2 separate regions of the Homo sapiens genome follow, and region 1 is linked to region 2. Evidence: promoter capture Hi-C in 16 types of primary human blood cells and fetal thymus (Javierre and others, 2016). All regions are on one chromosome and are shown on one strand. Each heading gives the region's core, a stretch centred on a gene start or on the middle of the fragment in contact. The rest is flanking DNA. Distances are from core to core; before and after follow the strand shown. Region 1 has its middle 330 kb from the start of KCNH8. Region 2 holds the start of SATB1-AS1 (SATB1 antisense RNA 1).

What was found. Contacts are between HindIII fragments. The CHiCAGO score rates a contact against its expected background, and 5 or more counts as called.
Region 1: a fragment that was not itself captured here is called in contact with the fragment with the promoter of SATB1-AS1 in region 2 in 5 of 17 cell types (fetal thymus, activated CD4 T cells, total CD8 T cells and 2 more); the score reaches 8.3 in fetal thymus.

What each region holds. Positions count from the first base shown.
Region 1 is chr3:18,814,880-18,820,897 of GRCh38, reverse strand. No RefSeq gene overlaps it. Among named protein-coding and RNA genes, the nearest start is that of KCNH8, 330 kb to the left of the region's middle. The HindIII fragment of the contact is 789 bases long and covers 2,349-3,137 here.
Region 2 is chr3:18,443,351-18,449,065 of GRCh38, reverse strand. SATB1-AS1 (SATB1 antisense RNA 1) reads right to left here and starts at 3,829. Exons shown (of 7, transcript NR_125803.1): 1 at 3,624-3,829. It also overlaps a transcript of SATB1 not described here. RefSeq lists a silencer at 3,704-3,923. The HindIII fragment of the contact is 8,267 bases long and covers 1-5,715 here.

The sequences.
Region 1 (6,018 bases), core at 1,494-3,993, 370 kb before region 2:
CAGTAGAAGCCTACAGAAGGGAGTGTGGCACTTTCCCATTCTGTATGCACAGGCTGAATTGCCCAGTAGTAAGCAGAAAATAGAAAGAAAATTAACATTTATTGAGCAGCTACTAAAGAAGTGACTTATATGCTAGTCAGTTAATTTAATTTTTATAAAATATGTACTATTGAAGTGTCTGGTAAGATGTCTTAGTTTTCCAAAATGGCTGAGAAGAGAATAAGTGAGAAAGGTTAAAGCAAAGATTTTTTTGGCAGTATTCCGTGGGAGGGTACCAGCTCATTATTCCATGATTGCCATTTTTACTAATACAGAAGGATTTTAGTATTGGCAGTCTTTTCTTCTAGTGAATAGAAAACAAAAACTTAACATCTAGGTATTCAAAATATCTTTTTCCCACAACACTGTTAACGAGAAATCTGTGTCTGCTAACTTGGATTCTGAGTGTTTCTTGTGGAGAATCATGAAAGTAATTGAGAGAGAGAACAGTAAGTCACTGAAAATTGAAAACAGAGGGTTAGCGGCAGAAGAGAAATTAACAGATACAAATAGGAAAAAACCAGAGTGGAGAAGACAAAAGCCAATGCCGATTGGGTTGTGTGTGTTTGTGGTGGGGGAGAAATAAAGGGTAAGAAGGAGGACATTCAGAGAATGTCCCAGAGAGACTGAGAACCTAACCGACATAAAAGAAATAGATATTAAGGTACAAGAACTTAAAAACATGATGATATCAAACGATATCCTCTTTCCACATTTCCAATTTAAATTGCATTTCAAATTAAATGTGGGATTAATTTTTAAAGTGTATCTCAGTTTTAGACTGGAACATAGATTAATTCAGTTTTATGTAGTTTACTTTGGCATTATAAATTACATCATTTCTGTGAGGATAATGATATTCTTCCTCTATATATCTCTGGATATTCCCTTCCAGGTTTTTTTTTTTTCAGAGATGTGGTCTCATTCTCTTGCTCAGACTGGAATGCAGTGGCAATATCATAGCTCACTACAGCCTCAAACTCTTGGGCTTAAGTGATCCTCCTGCCTCAGCCCCCTGAGTAATTGGGTCTACATGCATGTACCACCACACCTGGCTAAATTCCCCCAATTTTTAATTGGTCAATCTGTTTATGATCTTTGAAGATTTCATATTCTTGACTCTAACCATGTATAGATAGAAAGAAAAAGAATACATCATATTTGCATTAAGATTTAAATGAATACGAAATTTCCATTCTGAGCAAGACTTTGGAAAAATATTGAACTTATACTAAGCTAAACATAAATCTATTACAAAATTGAAGTGGCAATGTGAGGAGCTGTGTAGATGCCCTCTTCAGTGGAACAACCTACCTGGTCAAAGTTTTTTAAGAAAAAAATTAAGGTCTCTAGAAATTTTATGCTAAGGGCATGCAGAAAATGGAGAAACATTTTATTCAAGAAAAAATTACCAAATCTTGGTAAAACTAGTAAGTCTGTGACACTGAACCATGACCAGATCTCCTCCCTGCCCCAGCCCCACCTGACTCCAGTTGAGTGTGGTGGAAGCTCTACTCCTGGTGGCTTTAAACAAAATCACAGGGCTCTGCCTCCTCTTAGCTCTCAGTCTAGGGCCATGACTTCTTCCCTGGAGCATCAGGACACCAGTATTTTTCCTCTCTCCAAGCTTTAGCTGGCAGAAGCTGTGTTCAAGGCAAGTGTGGCCTGGAGTTTTAGGGCTCCCTTTTTCTGCCCAGTCCCCACTTGTATGGTGGAGCTTTGTCCAATATGTGTGCAACTTAAGAGTACTGAGACCTCTTTACTCTTACCTCAGCTCACTAACAGAGATACCTCCTAGAACCAATGACCCCCTAATAGAGTAGGGATGTCACCCTTAAAGAAGCTGGGCACTTTCCATTTTTTAACTCCGGAGCAATAATCCTGACGTTCTGTCCACGGGGAGGGCAGGCTGTAAGAGCAGAGAGGTCCATAGCTCTCCATAAAGTGACCAGCTTTATTTGGATTAGAGCATAGGGAAATTCAAACCTTAGGTCATTGTTGAAAACAGTGGAGATTTTAGTGATGAGAAATTAAAAGAAGTCTAGTAGCTTCATGATATCAACAAGTGAAGTGGAGACTAGCCAGAAGCTTAATAAGAAAATAGTTAACTAAGAAGAACACTCTAGTGATCTGAGAAAGTCTAAAAGACAGGCCACGAATAATATCTGTGCAAACCCATGGTTAATTGGATTGGACAATGGAGCAACTTATGCCCCAGGCATTGTTGAAAACAATAGAGCAATAAGCTAGGAATTCATGGACACTAAGAGCTGTGTGTGATACCAATACAGGCAGACCAGCCAGAAGCTTAACAGGAAAATCAGGCAAAGAGACAATCAAAGAGCCAGGATAAAATCATGATCACCACTGAAGGTGTGCGGGTGTGGCGGACAGGATCATGACAATACACATGCCCAAGGCTGCACCCTCTGAGGAGAAACATGTAAATAAGACTGCACACTGTGGAAATAGACTTCACAGATTTAGTTCATCTAAGTTACTAAACAAATAAACAAAGGGTCAAGCAAACACAGTAACAACTCCTGGAGCAGGAAAGTCAATAACCAAAGTATCTACAATATATTATCTAAAATGTCTAGTTTCCAGTAAAAACTCATGAGACATACAAATAAATAGGAAAGCATGACCCATACACAGAAAAAAAGCAGCAAACAGAAGCTGCCTGTGAAAGGAACAAGATGTCAGATTTTAAAAAGACAAAAATGTAGCCATTATAACATGTTTAAAGAACTAAAGGAAACTATGCTTAAAGCATAAAAGAAAGGTATATCTCATCATATCTTGATGAGATCATAATGTCGTATCAAATAGAGCATAGCAACAAAAAGACAAAATTATTATATTTTTTAAATGAGTCAAATGGTAATTGTGTAGTTGAAGAGTAAAATAAGCAAAATTGTAAATCACTAGAGGGGATTGACAATAGATTGGAGCTGGCAGAAAAGAGAATTAGAAAGCCTAAAGATAGATCAGTAGAGATTATGCAATCTGAAGAACACAGAGGAAAAAAAGAATAAATAAAAATGAGCAGAGTCCCAGAGAAATATCAGACATTTTCAAGTGCACTAACATAAGCTTAATGGGAATACCACTACAAGAGGGGAGAGGGAAAGTACAAACAAAAGAATTTGAAGTAATAAAGGCTGAAATCTTCCTAAATTTGATGAAAAACATTAATCTGCACATACCCCAAAGTTCAAGAAACTCTAAGTAGGAAAAATGTAAAGAAATCCACACCTGTATACCCACAACTGTATCTATACATCATAGTTAAAATGTTGAAAGATTAAAAACAAGGAGAAAATTTTGAAAAGAGTAAGAGATAAAAGTGATCATCATGTAAAAGTGATACCTGAAGATTAATAGTTGACTTCTCATCAGGAACAATGGATGTCAAAAGGCAATTTAAAATGCTAAAAGTTCAAAGATATGAAATCAACCTAAATGACCACCAATGGCAGATTGGATAAAGAAAATGTGGCATGTCTACACCATGGAATACTGTGCAGCCATAAAAAAGAGTGAAATCATGTCTTTCATGGGAACATGGATGGAGCTGGAGGCCATTGTCCTTAGGAAACTAATGCAGGAACATAAAACCAGATACCACATGTTCTTACTTGTAAGTGGGAGCTAAATGATGAGAACTCATGGACACAAAGAGGGCAACAACAGACACTGAGTTTTACATAAGAGTGAAGGGTGGGAGGAGGGAGAGGATCAGAAAAATTAATTATTGGATACTAGCCGTAGTACATGGGTGATGAAATAATCTGTACAACAAACCCCCATGAGATGAGTTTACCTATATAACAAGTCTGCACATGCACCCCTGAACCTAAAATACAACTTTAACAAAAAAAGAAAAAACTTACTAAAAATTAAAAAAATTTCCAACCCCAAGAATCTTATTTCCAGCAAAATTATCTTTAAAAAATGAAAGTGAAACAAATACATTCCAAGATAAACAAAAACTGAGAGAATCTGTTGCTAGCAAATCTGTCTTAGAAGGAGTTTTAAAGAAATTTCTTCAGACATGAAAAAACAAAGCATGGTAGTAAAGATAATGATCTAGCATAAAGCAATATGTATATAATTGTATTGTTGGGCCCATAGCATGTATAATATACTTGATGACAGCAGCACAAAGGAGGTGGGCAGGAGCATAGTTATATTGGAGTAAGAAAATAATACCAGGTTATAACTAATATCCACAGGAATAAATGAAGGGATGAAAAAGATAAAGAAGAAGGCTAACATAACAGTCTCCTCTAATATATACTTGTTCTCATTTCTCTTTGGAATTTATTTAGAAAACACTATTATAACAATGTATTGTGCTTAAAACATATATGGACATAATATGTGTAACAATCATAGCACAGAAAAGAAAAGAGAATTTCACAGGAACAATGTCAGTGTAAATCTAAAATAGAGTCAGGTAATGGAGCAGAATTGAAAGTCCAGAAATAAACCCTAATATTTACCGTCAATTGATTTTTTACAAGGGTGCTAAGATAATTCAATGAGGAAATGATAATCTTTACAACAGATGGTGTTGGATAACTGGATAGTCACACTCAAAAGAATGAAGTTGGACCCTTTTCTCAAAAAATTAACTCAGAATGGGTTCTAAGAGCTAAAACCATACAACTCTTAGAATAAAATAGAGAAATAATTTTTTATGAACATGAGTTAGGCAAAATAAAACACCAAAACAATAGTGAAAAAAGAAAAAATATACAAATTGGAATTTGCCAAAATTAAAAACTTTTGTGCCCCAAAGGATACCATCAAGAAAGTGCAAAGATACCTTATGGAGTGTGAAGAAATGTTTGCAAATTTTGTATCTAATAAGAGAATTATATCTAGAATAAATTAAGAAATCTTACAACTCAACAATAAAAAAACAAATAACCCAATTTTTAAAATAGGCAACAGATACAAATAGATGTTCTCCAGAAAAAAAATCTGTGAATGATAATAGGCACATGAAAAGATGCTCAACATAATTATTCATTATGGAAATACAAATCAAAACCACAATAAAATAGAGGGCATACCTCACTCATTTTACTATGTTTTGCTTCATGCTGCTTCAAAGAGTTGTGGCAAGCCTTCATCCAGCAAGTTTATTGGCACTATTTTTCCAAAAGCACGAGCTCACTTCATGTCTCTGTATCACATTTTTGTATTTCTTGCAATATTTTGAACTTTTAAATTATTATTCTATCTGTTATCAGTCATGTTTGATGTTACCATTGTAATGGTTTGGGGGATACCAGGAACCACCCATACAGGACAGGAAACTTAATTGACAAATGTTGTTATGTGTTCCAACTGCTCCACTGACAAGCCATTCTCCATTTCTCTCTTTCTTTTCAGGCCTCCTATTCCCTGGGACACAATAATATTGAAACAAGGCCAATTAATAACCCTACAATGGCCTCTCAGTATTCAAGTAAAAGGGTTAGCTATAATGCTATTATACACTTCATGGACTACAGTATAGTGTAAACATATCTTTTACATGCACCAGGAAACCAAGAAAATTGTGTGACTTAGTTTATTGCAATATTCACTTTATCATGGTGGTCTGGGACTGAACCCATGCTATCTTGATGGTATGCCTCTACCACTTCACATCCACTAGAATGACTAAAGCTAAAAGGCAGACAATAATAAGTGTTGATGAGGAGAAATGGGAACACTCATATACTACAGTTCCACTCCTATTATATAACCCTATGTATATATCTACAAGAAATGAAAACGTATGTACACATAAAATCTTATACACAAATGTTGATGGAAGCACAGTTTATAGCAGCCAAAAAGTGGAAACCACCCAAATGTCCGTCAACTGATAAACGGACAACAAGAATGTGCTATAGCCACACAACAATATATTATTCAGCAGTAAAATGGAATGAAGTACTAATACAAGCTACAATATGA
Region 2 (5,715 bases), core at 2,580-5,079:
GGCCATATGATGTATGGCATTTCTGGGCCATAGCATTTAAATGTCTGCATGAAACCCTCCAGAGTGATCTTTATTTTTGCCATAACAACATGAAACATTCAAGATGGCAACTGTTCCATTAGCCAGGGACCTGGAGTGACAGACATGGAACAGACCAGCTGAACTGCAATGGATTCAAACCATAACCAAGAAAACGTTTGCTGTTACAGGCCACTAAAAAATTGGAATTGTTACTCCAGCACATTGCCTATCTTGACTGATAAACAAATTTGTTCTGTTTGGCTGCAACTGGCAGGACGAAGACTAACGGTTGGAAGTTTCAGGAAGACTAATTCTGTGCAATATAAGGTAAAAAAATATATATAAGGTAAAAACATAATAAAGTATATAAAGATGAAATACTTTTGAAATTATCCATTCACTTGCACAATATATAGTGAACTCTATTCTCTGGTAAGTACGGTATAGGTAAAAATCCTTGCCTTAATGGCGGTAAGTAGTAAGTTCCCCTTCACACCCAAAATATCTGCATTGAATGGCCTCTAAAGATTTGACAGAACAAATTAACTTTAAAAATACCTTCCAACCTAGAGCTTTAGGATCTCTGATTCCTCTGGTCTTAAGAGAAAAATATGTACATATATATATATATTTTTTCTTCCTCAAGTATTTCTTTGATTCAAACCACTAACTGATCCATTGTCTTTTCACATTTTGATGTCTTTTTTCCAGCAAATAACTTCCTTCAAGGCCAATGCTGTTTTATCCTTTCCCTTGATCTTTCTTCTAATATTTAGTAGGCAATATTTTATTGTCTATTCTTTTAAGGAAATAACCAGTGCAGCTTTTGATACCAGCTACTATTATTGGCCATTTGATATGTTCCAGATTTGTCTTTCAGTCATTTAAGTCACATTTGGACTTGTTAAAAAAATCTAGTAGCACAAATGTATTATTGTGTTAGTTCATTTGAGGTGCTACAACAAATTATCTTTGACTGGGTAATTTATAAGCAACAGAAATTTATTGCTCACAGTTCTGGAAGCTGAGGAGTCCAAGATTACAGCACCAGCAGATTCAGTATCTGGTGAAGGCTCACTCCTTGCTTCACAGATGGCACTTTTGTTGCTGTGTCCTCACACAGTGGAAGGGGCAAGGTAGCTAGATTCAGCCTGTCTTACAAAGGCACTCCTGTCACTCATGAGGGTTGAAGCCTTCATGACTTAATCACTTCCCAAAGGCCCTACTTCTTAATACCATCACTTTTGATATTAGGTTCTAACACATGAACCCCAATATTGGGGGAACACTAACATTCAGACCATAGCAACTAACCAAATAATCCAGATTAAATGCCCCTTTCTTCTGAAAAATGATCTTAGCCTTGTGCTATGAAATTTGTGGCCAACTACAATATTTTATTAACATCTGAGCTGTAAGGCTTAAGAGTTTATCAAACTATGTCATTTAATGCACTGCACCCAGAATTGCATAATTCTGTATTCTAACAGAGCCCATGTGCTTTCTATACAAGACTATTGGGAGGAAAAAGCAAATTCAAAAAATGAGGGGCAAAATGGTCTCGGTTCAACTCAGAGGAGCATATCATACTTTCAGTTATAGGGGCTTGGCTGATAACTTGGGGAAGCAGATGAGTATATAAGAGTGTAAGAAAGAAAAAAAAACCTTTTTTAAAAATTTCAAATTTCTGTTCAGCTTCATTTCAGGCTTTCAGAATTGGAAAATCAACTGCCTGCTACAATAAATTACTGTTAAGCAGTAATTAAATACCGAGAATGTATTTTTTTCCATTCCAAACCTGATGTCTTTCTCAGACACAGATATTGTTACTGGTTAGGAAATGCAGCATTTTGGTAAATTAAGGCAGGAGGATTTAATGTCTCCTGGGACCTGTGGGGACAGAAAGTGATCCAAGAAGGAAAACGTTTTACTATGTTTTGCTCATTATAATCATTTATACCTTTTTGCTTTGCTTTACAAAACTAGGAGTTGTGGTGGGCACTTGTATCTTTAAAAAGGAGGGTTGGTTCCCTAAAAGAACCCTAATTCATAATTTTAAAAAATTCCTATATGTTTGGAATTGTGGTCTCGGCATAAAATGATGATCAACTGAAAAAAGATGAATAACTTCCAGTGAATTCAATAACCATGGATGAGGGGAAAAAAGCAGCATGAATACATGCTGTATTCTCCTTTATTTAGAAAAAGCACACAAAAATACAGCAGAGTTGATGTGTTTGTCACCAGGGCTTGAAAGTCGAATCAACCACTGTGTAAAAGATAAAATAAGACTGCACGGATATCAGGATTTTCCCAGCGTGCTTTATTCATAGCCATCTGACACAACAGGACCTAACAGAGCTTTTAGGAAAAACTGAATTCTCAGCCCACAATCACTTTCCAGGAACTTCCCTGCAAACAGTGCTGTGCGCTGGCAGGATGGAAATCTTAGCAATCTCCCTCCTGCTTCCATAGTTTCCTCCTCTCTAAATAAAATTATTTATGGGGACTTAATGAGAGAGCAAGCCTTGTGTGAAAGGAATTCAAGAAAGTGCGGCTTCTAAAAATACACCTAGGCAGCTCTACAGTCCTTATTGTTACAACCTGACGTTTTGCAGTTCATGCCATGAACCTAACTACACTTCTTGCCAAATACACACAAGCGTACAAAGAAGAGGAAAAGTAAAAACTATGTTACTATGTTTTATCTTTCTGCAATCCCTTTGAGTAAACAGTAGTAATTTTCTGTTGACATACTCAATGCAAATTTCCCAAAGGCTACACAATACAAAACAAAAGACCTGTTAGCTTCCTCAGAGCTGGGGGGAGGAGAGGCAGGGGGAGAGAAATAAAGTTGATGGAGCTCCAGTTTCTCCTAAGCCTGCAGTCCTGAGCCTCCAGTCACCCTAGTCTTTTTGTAGAGATTTTTTGAGTTTCAGTCTCCACTTGGGAAGGTTCCTTGGCCCCTTCTCTCCCAATGTCAATAAAACCCTCATCTCTCCCGCTTTGCCCCCAGCTTTTTGGGGAAATTGGACCTTGCCTAGGCGTCTTGTTCCAGTGGGTTGAAAAGTACAGCTGGTGATGTGAGGATAAATATTTAAACTAATGGGCTGGGTCACAGCGTGGGGGTCTTCAAGAGAGGGCCTCCTCCTCCTTCCGCCACGTGCTCCTCACTTGGGGTGCAGGGCTCCTGGACAAGGGGCTAAGACGGACGAGGGTGGGATGAAGGGAGATGGACAGACCAGACTGTAAGTGAAGGAGGCCCTCTAGGAAACATCGTCTCGACCGAACATTGACGGAGAAAAAAAAAATGGCCCAAATGCCCCTAGTGGGGAAGCATACACCCCACGCAGGCTGGGTTGGGGTGGGGGTGCTTCGCGGCCTCTCACCTGACTTCCTCCTCCGCCTGCACACACACTACAGTAACCCCCTCTACTCACCCCCCAAAACCCAGCCAAACAACAAGCAACAAGAGGAAGCCGCAGGCGACAAGAGGAGGAGTGCGCGTGTTGGGGGCCCCCGGAGAGGTGAGGGGGCAGGGTTGGCGGGCGACGAGAACCGCGCCGCGCACCCCAAGCGCACCCCCAAGCGCCCACACTTACCCCTCGAGGCTGAGGGTCCTGTCTTCCGCGCCAACCCCCGTGTGCGCCCCCTGGCCCGCCCTCGCCCCTCCGGCCCGCCGCCCCCCACACCCCGGCCGGCGCGCTGGGAGGGAGCCCGGGAGCGGTGCGCAGCAGCGGCGGCGGCGGCGGCGGCTCGGGCTCGGCTCGGCTCGGGCTTCAGTGCGCCTAGTGTCGCCAGCGGCCGCCGAGGCTCCCACCGCCAGGGGGAGAAGCCGGGCGGGCGCTGGGGAGGCGGGCCGGGCCCTGGCCGCCCCGCTGGCCAGCCCGCGCCGCACAAGCTCCGAAGCGGCGGCTACGCGGGGTCCGCCGAGCCCCCGGGCGCAGCGTGCCCGGTCCGAAGCGCCACGTCTGGATGCGCGTCCCGGGTGGCTGCGGGCTCCCGCGGGGGACGCCCCGGCCGCTCCGGTGCGCCTCCAGACTGCAGGCGCCGCGACCGACGAGACGAGAGCAGCTCCCGCCGGCCCCTTCCCCCTCCCGCCCCCGCCGCCGCCCCCTCCCCCTTCTCCCCCCCCCGCCCGTTAACATCTCCTCCCTCCCCCTCCTTCTCTTCCTTCCCTTGGCCCCGCGCGCTCGCTCGCTCGCTCCTCGCCTCGCTCTCCCCTTTAAACGCCCACTTCGTATGGGGAAAGAGGACAACTTGAAGTCAAGTTGCAATTAACTTCCGCGGCAGCCGCAGCTCCGGCGGCGGCGGCGGCGGCAGGAGAGGCAGAAGCCGCCGCCTCGGAAGTCCGACGCCGGCGCGCCCGCCCGGGGAGCCGTTCTTGGTTTCAGGCCCGCACTCGACAGCCACCGCCGCCCCCAACGTCCATGCCTGAGTGAGTTCTGCTCTTTTGCCTCCCTTTTCCCCTTGCTACTCTTGCTGTTTTATCTCTGTCCCTCTTTTTCCGGAATCAATCCAAACTTCTCCGTAGCACCCACTCCTCGTCCCCTATTGGGGCGGCTGGGCTCCCCTCTCGTGGGCGCAGGGCTTCAACGGTCTTCCGAGCCCCTTTTCTCACGCAGACGGACCTTGGAGGGGTGGGCTGGTAGAGTAGGGGAGAGCGGTCGGGATGGGGGATTTGAAGATGCCATTCGTTTTCTGTCTGGGTGTGGACACACCACCACACCTGCCCAATAGACCCTGGCTGAACAAACTCCTTCAGGTCACCGGTATGGCCCCTTTTAGAAAAGGAAAGGGGAGTGGAAAAGACCGAAGGAAGCAAATGGGGAAAAGGGGAGCCTCTCGGTGCGTTCTGGAGCCGGGCGGGCAGTAAGGTGCCTGGAGGAGTGGGCTGCGGGAGTGGTAATGTTCCCCCACCGGATCGCGAGTCTGCTCAGCATCCTTTCCCGGTCCATCTCCGCCTCCCTCCGCTCCCTGCCTGCGCGGCTGATTGTAAGCATCGGCGAAGAGGGGCCTGGGAAGTTTGTGGCAACTTCTGCATCCCGGGAGCTACTCGGGCGCCGGGGCGCTCAAGTTGGAGCCCGGAGTTTGAAAGCCGCGGCACTCCTCATTTCGAGCCCTCGCTGGCTGTAGCGAGGCCGGTCCTGGAGAGGCTGCTGGCGTGAATGTGGGTTTGGAGTTGGGCAAGAGGCAGAAGAAAGGGCCGTCCTCTTAGCAGGGGCCGGGACATCACAGGTGCAGCCTCGCAGTCCACACCGTGTTTCCCTCCTGCTGTCCAGACCCGAGCGCGGTGGCCTTTTCCTATTGCTCCAGTGCTAAGGCTCCCGGGCCGGCAGAACCGGGGTTTGGGAAACCACGACGAGAAGGACGAAGCAGGCAGGTGGCAGGTCCGGGGAGTGCCACGTGCTTACTGGGGAAACGCAGTTTCCTCTTGGGATGACCTCAGAAGACCAACAGGGGAAAGGGGCATAGGGATCTCCTTGAAAGTTTTGGCCTTGGCCTCCACTGAGGTGTTGCAAATTTCACTAACAAATGTCAACCACAGGGTCCTCTCTCAAAGTGTCCTGGTTGGCAACTTTGACCTCTGCGCCCTTCCTTGGCGAACTTTCTCAGTGGCATTCCGGACTTACAAGCAAATGTTCTAAGACTTGGACTCCACATGGTTATAAAAGAGACAGGGAAAACAGAAGG